Regions from separate parts of the Homo sapiens genome. Here region 2 is linked to region 1. The links are contacts of gene promoters, found by promoter capture Hi-C in blood cells and fetal thymus (Javierre and others, 2016). All regions are on one chromosome and are shown on one strand. Each heading gives the region's core, a stretch centred on a gene start or on the middle of the fragment in contact. The rest is flanking DNA. Distances are from core to core; before and after follow the strand shown. Region 1 holds the start of TET2 (tet methylcytosine dioxygenase 2). Region 2 overlaps ELOVL6 (ELOVL fatty acid elongase 6).

Evidence for each region. The method cuts DNA at HindIII sites, captures the fragments that hold promoters and counts their contacts. A CHiCAGO score of 5 or more calls a contact.
Region 2: a fragment that was not itself captured here is called in contact with the fragment with the promoter of TET2 in region 1 in 1 of 17 cell types (fetal thymus); the score reaches 10.4 in fetal thymus.

Annotation. Positions count from the first base shown.
Region 1 is chr4:105,145,341-105,148,668 of GRCh38, forward strand. It overlaps TET2 (tet methylcytosine dioxygenase 2), which reads left to right and starts at 1,536. Exons shown (of 11, transcript NM_001127208.3): 1 at 1,536-1,639. It overlaps LOC124900868, which reads right to left. Exons shown (of 3, transcript XM_047416559.1): 2 at 155-1,621. The coding sequence ends at 933. RefSeq lists silencers at 798-1,477, 2,441-2,510 and enhancers at 1,548-1,717, 2,061-2,110. The HindIII fragment of the contact is 4,110 bases long and covers 1-1,764 here.
Region 2 is chr4:110,192,637-110,195,964 of GRCh38, forward strand. The region is part of intron 1 of ELOVL6 (ELOVL fatty acid elongase 6); the gene reads right to left. Among named protein-coding and RNA genes, the nearest start is that of ELOVL6, 4.3 kb to the right of the region's middle. The HindIII fragment of the contact is 1,138 bases long and covers 1,189-2,326 here.

The DNA.
Region 1 (3,328 bases), core at 286-2,785:
TATTGACTTAAGGGTACTGTGATCACCATGCAGTGATCCCATAAAAGATGTGACCAAAATACCCACTTAAAATTTGAACGTCAGTCATGTAAGAACATGTAAAAGATGAAGGGAATATTTCAAAAACGACTATCTGACGTAATATGATACTTACTATGACTCATATGGGCTTTGTTCTTCATCTCATCTTCAAATAAAAAGTTGATGATTAGAAAAAGGAGCATTAGAAGGGGGAAGTAACACTACTCGGCAATAGAGAAAAACTCCGGTCAAAGGAAGAGCATAGTTACAGAGCTCCGAATGTCAGGGAAAATCAAGCATCCGTCATTCGGAATTAGCTCTGTATCGGTCGGTTTCTTCATTACTTAATTGTACGGGGGGAAACTACTTCAAAGTAAGGGCTCTTACGAGAGGCAACTTAAGCATTTGAAAGTGCAGGTTTATTTCCTCCTAGCGAGAAGTAGGGGGTCACTAGTGAGAAACCTATTTCAATCTGTGAGACGCCCCCTTCTACTCAGCCCACGTGGCTAAAGTAAACAGAAGGTGGGCCGGGGCGGGGAGAAACAGAACTCGGTCAATTTCCCAGTTTGTCGGGTCTTTAAAAATACAGGCCCCTAAAGCACTAAGGGCATGCCCTCGGTGAAACAGGGGAGCGCTTCTGCTGAATGAGATTAAAGCGACAGAAAAGGGAAAGGAGAGCGCGGGCAACGGGATCTAAAGGGAGATAGAGACGCGGGCCTCTGAGGGTAAGGTGGGCGCAAGCGGAGGTGTGGTGCGGGGAGAGGTGCCAGTGGGTGGAGGCGGGGGCCAGAGCGAGGGCACGTGCGGGTACACTCCGGAGGAGGTGGGTGCGCGCGGGGGCGTGTGCGCGGGACCTCGAAGTGGTGGTGGAGTGCAGACCAGCAAAAAGTTTCAAAGGGAAATCTTAGATGTCACGTCTTTGTCCAGGCACCCGTGCCATCCCAACCTCCCACCTCGCCCCCAACCTTCGCGCTTGCTCTGCTTCTTCTCCCAGGGGTGGAGACCCGCCGAGGTCCCCGGGGTTCCCGAGGGCTGCACCCTTCCCCGCGCTCGCCAGCCCTGGCCCCTACTCCGCGCTGGTCCGGGCGCACCACTCCCCCCGCGCCACTGCACGGCGTGAGGGCAGCCCAGGTCTCCACTGCGCGCCCCGCTGTACGGCCCCAGGTGCCGCCGGCCTTTGTGCTGGACGCCCGGTGCGGGGGGCTAATTCCCTGGGAGCCGGGGCTGAGGGCCCCAGGGCGGCGGCGCAGGCCGGGGCGGAGCGGGAGGAGGCCGGGGCGGAGCAGGAGGAGGCCCGGGCGGAGGAGGAGAGCCGGCGGTAGCGGCAGTGGCAGCGGCGAGAGCTTGGGCGGCCGCCGCCGCCTCCTCGCGAGCGCCGCGCGCCCGGGTCCCGCTCGCATGCAAGTCACGTCCGCCCCCTCGGCGCGGCCGCCCCGAGACGCCGGCCCCGCTGAGTGATGAGAACAGACGTCAAACTGCCTTATGAATATTGATGCGGAGGCTAGGCTGCTTTCGTAGAGAAGCAGAAGGAAGCAAGATGGCTGCCCTTTAGGATTTGTTAGAAAGGAGACCCGACTGCAACTGCTGGATTGCTGCAAGGCTGAGGGACGAGAACGAGGTCAGAGCGCTTCTCTTATGCCGCGAAACTCTCCCTTTCTTCTCCCCTTCGCTTTTTCTCGGGCTTCCAGGGACTGGGGAGCAAACCCTGTAGTGTCACCCACAAATACCAAGAGGGAAGAGGGAAGCTTCACAAATTACTGGAGCCTCTTCAACATGGCTGACAAATATAGTTTTAATTCCCTCTACCCCTTTTAAACCTGTAGTTCTGTGTTCTCTTCTCTCCTCCTAATGCTCGTCCCCTCATCTCCCAGAAAACTTACCTTTGTGCCTCCGACGAGCCGGTTTCCCGGCCTTTTTTAATCCTCAGAAAAGTGATTTTTAAATTTGCTTTCCTTTCTAAAATAGTTCAGCTTTGGGGGCACTACTTTTCCCTTTAATCCTCTTCCCCTGTTTCTTTCGTGTAAGTGAAACGAGTCTCCCGTTTATCCTGAACAACCTCAGAGAGAACACTGATAGGGTGTTTTTCGACCCTTTTATCAGCTGTAGGGTCTGGGTCTGGGTTTGTGTCTGCCTCCTCCTACCTTCTTATCCCCCTTTAGGGGGCTGTACGAAGTGAATGTCACAGGGAGTGGAATTGGAGTACACTGAGTGGGTTTTTTTTTTCCTTAAGTCCGCGCGTTTTGTTAGCGGCGCTGAGTGAAAGAGGAAAGAATAGTTTCTCTGGTTCCCCAAACAAGACCAGAACTCACTTTTCTCAAGGTACATAAGTCAGCGCTGGGCTGAGCCTTCCAGCCTGGGGAATGTATGTAAGAGAATTTATGGACAAATCTGTGTCCCGGCTTTGTGCTTCTCCCGAATCAGCTTCGTTTGGTTCCTTGGTAAGTGACAGGCAGACACAAAGGCAGGCGCAGGCCCGGGGAGGGGGCGGGAGGGGGTGGGGAGCGCAGCGTTGGAGTTGCAAGACTGCAAGGTCAGGGGCGCCTAAAGAAATGAAACCCAATCCCAGCAAAGAAGTGAAGAGCAGATTTATAACAGTCCCATCCAAATTTCTCTTTGGCTTCTCTCTTTGGTCTTTCATCTCTCTGCCTTTCTCTCTGTGTCTCCTCTCTACTCTTTCTTCTCTCTCTCTCATACACATACACACACACACACACACACACACCTCACTCGCATCTTGCTGAATCTTTTCACTGGGACTGCTTGTCTAGTTTTATTAAGCTAATAGGGTTTGTATGGAGAGTTTTCTACCTATGACATAATGAAGTGTGGCCTGGATAGACTCCTGGAAAGGCCGAAAATGAAATATAAGTGTTATTTGCTGGTTATTCCCCTCATGATATACTTTTAATTACATTGAGGGAGTTCTCCCTTCTTCATCTAATGTTTAAGAATTGAGAAAAGGCTTATTTTCCAGCGGTAAAATTTAGTGCATAAAATTTAGTGAAATATTTATATATTTACGTGTCTAGGGAGTGGAATACATTCATGAATTTAATATCTCAAATCACACATTGTGCTTTTTCCCCTTCAGTCAGGGATTATAATGGGAAACCCAAATTCAAAGATATTCATCAACAAATGATCCATCATAGGAATAAGATTGTATCTTAAGGGAAGTTGGGATTCACAGAGAAAAGACATTGGTTTGGTTTGGTGTGATACTGTGGGTATTGTTGCCTGGCTAATGAAATCATTACATTTGCATTTTAATGGAAAGTTGAAATACTAAGGGGAGTTATGTTCTTTT
Region 2 (3,328 bases), core at 508-3,007, 5.0 Mb after region 1:
CTAAACAAGAATTGCATGAATATTTATAATTTATTAAAAGATACATGAAAGTTCATATCAAAGCTCCAGCACAACTTTACATTATTTTCTAGGACCCCACACAGATTACACGTTTTTTCTCTATGTATTTTCTCATTCTTCTCACTCTTAACCTAGTACATATGCCTACATCCCAGTGCTTTCTAAAAATTATTGAATGTCATGTTATGATCCTCACACAAGTTTTAATCCTAAATCAATATGAACTGTGATACCTCAAAATAAACAGCAAGTGACATGAGTACAATATAGACACACTATATTCCTACAGAGCTGACCAAATTTGTTGCTGCAATGTTAATGATGAAATGAAACTCTGGCCTACTCTGTTCCATAGTCACAGATGCACTGTTTTCCAGCCATTTTTCTTACAAATGAATGTAGAAGGTTGCAAGGAAGACTTCAGGAAGCAATTCAAAGCAATCCTCACTAAATGAAAAACAACAGCCAAATACTATGTCTGCATTTGAACAGTTTCATTAACATTATGCTGCTATATTTTTTATGCTGCTATATTTGAGTTAAATGCTAACACAGGTTTTTAGTGCTTTTTATGTTCTTTAATCATGAAATTGTACATCGTGTTACTTTCCAAACTTCACCTACAAAAAAGATATAGATGTACAACTCCTTTTAAAATGTTTCACGGCCGGTTGCAGTGGCTCAAGCCTGTTATCTCAGCACTTTCGGAGGCCGAGGTGGGCGGATTACTTGAGGTCAGGAGTTCAAGACCAACCTGACCAACACGGTGAATTCCCATCTCTACTAAAAATACAAAAATTAGCTTGGTGTCATGGCAGGCACCTGTAATCCCAGCTGCTTGGGAGGTTGAGACATAAGAATCACTGGAACCCGGAGGCAGAGGTTGCAGTGAGCCAAGATTGTGCCACTGCACTCCAGCCTGGGCAACAGAGTGAGACCCTGTCTCAAAAATAAAACAAAATAAAATAAAATGTTTCACTCCATTTTTACCTTTGGTAAAAACAAATTTGTGAATAAAAAGGCTTCCTCAGCTGAACAGCATTTAATTCTTAAAATTCCTATACTATCTTATAGACTCTATAATACAGAATACAAAATGTTAAAACAAGTAAACCCTTTTACACCACCAAGGGAGTGAGTGGGGAGAAAAGTCAGAAAAATATATAAAGCTTTGAAAGGCTGGATGTGTGGAGAATGCCAGGAGAGGGGGAGGGTTTCATGAAGTTCTAGGCAAGCCCTTTGAAGACGTCACCTCACATACATAATGTTACAGCAGTCAGCACAGGCCTCCTGCTTTCCTATTGGTGGGCACCGTGTCAGCCGACATCAGAAGATAATCATCATTGGCTAGACAATTACAACTGGAGCAACTAGCATCCACTGCTGTTAGCACAAACCTGGCAGGCTGCTGAAAGAGAAGGCAGAGAGAGCCCAGCTTCCCTTCTCACTCAATGAATTATATGTCGCCTTAGCAATCACCAGGTGATTTTGCTCCCTGGCTAGCAGCACTTCCAACTTAAGTCAGCTCTTAGTGAGAAAAACAGGTAAAGGCCAGACATCTCATAAAAGAGCAAAATGTCTCTATTTTCAATGTTGTAAAATTGCAAGGACTTTTCAGTGAAAATTAGAATTCAAAACTCCTATTTGGACCTATGAGCAGACATTTTTCTCTACCTCATGTAATAAACTCTCATTGACCAGATAATATAACCAGACAGGATATTTTTCACTGGACATGTAGTTTCAAGATGAGGCCCAGGATGATTCTACAAGGGAATACACTTATTACTTTGCATTTCAATTGCTATTCTAACCTATTATATATGAAACTTTTTGCTAGCAAAGTAAAAAAAGTCTGCAGTATTTACTTTCATGGCTAGGCCAATGAGTATGAGGTTAATGATTCATTAAAGCAGCAATAAACTTGAAAACTAGCCTCAGTTGAACCCTTTAGGGTTTATACAAATGCTACTCCAAAAGTCGGGCCCCATTCCATTAACACGTGCTATGGTTAGTAAGTATGGATTATAGGGTATGTTAACATTAATTTGCGCTATGGTTAGTAAGTATGGATTATAGCGTATGTTTAATAAAGTATTCTTATTTTAGGTCCTCTTAAATGATGCTAGTTAGCAAAGGCAGCATACTGGCAAAATACTACTCCTGGCCATTCTCACAGTTCTTCAAAAGCCAATGTAGTTCACTTTTGAGAGAGGATGTTTTAATTCTCTAAATTAACAAGTTTTGCCTGTTACTAAGAAGAGATTTATAAGGACAACCATAAATTCCCAAAAGACAGAGTAGAAGCTTCACTATATCATGTTTTTCCTCCAGAAGCTATTTCAAACCATTTTAAGTTAATGAGTCTGAAAAAGGTAAGATTTTATGGTTTCCTCAAGTTCCTCTCTCCTCAAGAGGGTCTAAGCCTTGGTTATGGAGTTCCCTTCTCCTATTAAAAAGGGAGTGAAAAGAAAATCTGGTTCAAGACTTTTTGTCCTGCATTAGCTGGATTCTATTAAAAATAAAAACTAAAAGCTTTAATTTGAACCTCCCGGGTTCAAGCAATTCTCCTGCCTCAACCTCCCGAGTAGCTGGGATTACAGGCACCCGCCACCACGCTCGGCTAATTTTTTTGTATTTTTAGTAGAGATGGGGTTTCACCATATTGGCCTGGCTGGTCTCGAACTCCTGTCGTCAGGTAATCCACCCACCTCAGCCTCCCAAAGTGCTGGGATTACAGGCAGGAGCCACCACACCCGGCTAATAAAATTAAATTTTAAAAAGTGTTTAAAGTCTTTTTGGCTGTACAGTTTTTGGGGAGGGAGGAGAGATAAAATTGGGCACCCTGGGATATTGGGAGAAATGCACAAAATCTGGCATTTAAAAAAAAACATGAAAGTAAGACAATTAGGGTCAGGAAGAGTTGCAAGGGAGGGGTAACAGCCAGCAGGGTTCTTTGACTGCAATAAGCAATCTAAGAACATAACATCAACAGAGAGCAGAAGCCAGGAAGGGAAAAATCCCAAGATGTGACTCTGCCACGGTATGCAAGTTCTAGCCTGTTAACCTTCGGGTATTAACGAGTAGTGCTGGCAATAAAATGGGCACCAATCACCATTTCAACTCACTGGACATTTTCTCAAGAATGTGCCTTATGCAAAGCACTCTGCTAGGTGCTTTGCAGAATCAAGAGTGGGATGACAAGAACCGTAACCTGAAGAGCTGATGGTCTGTAAGTTAATAACCATGTATATAACAGTAAAGGATATTGCCAGAAGAAAGGTACAGATAAAGAACTAGGAGGAAA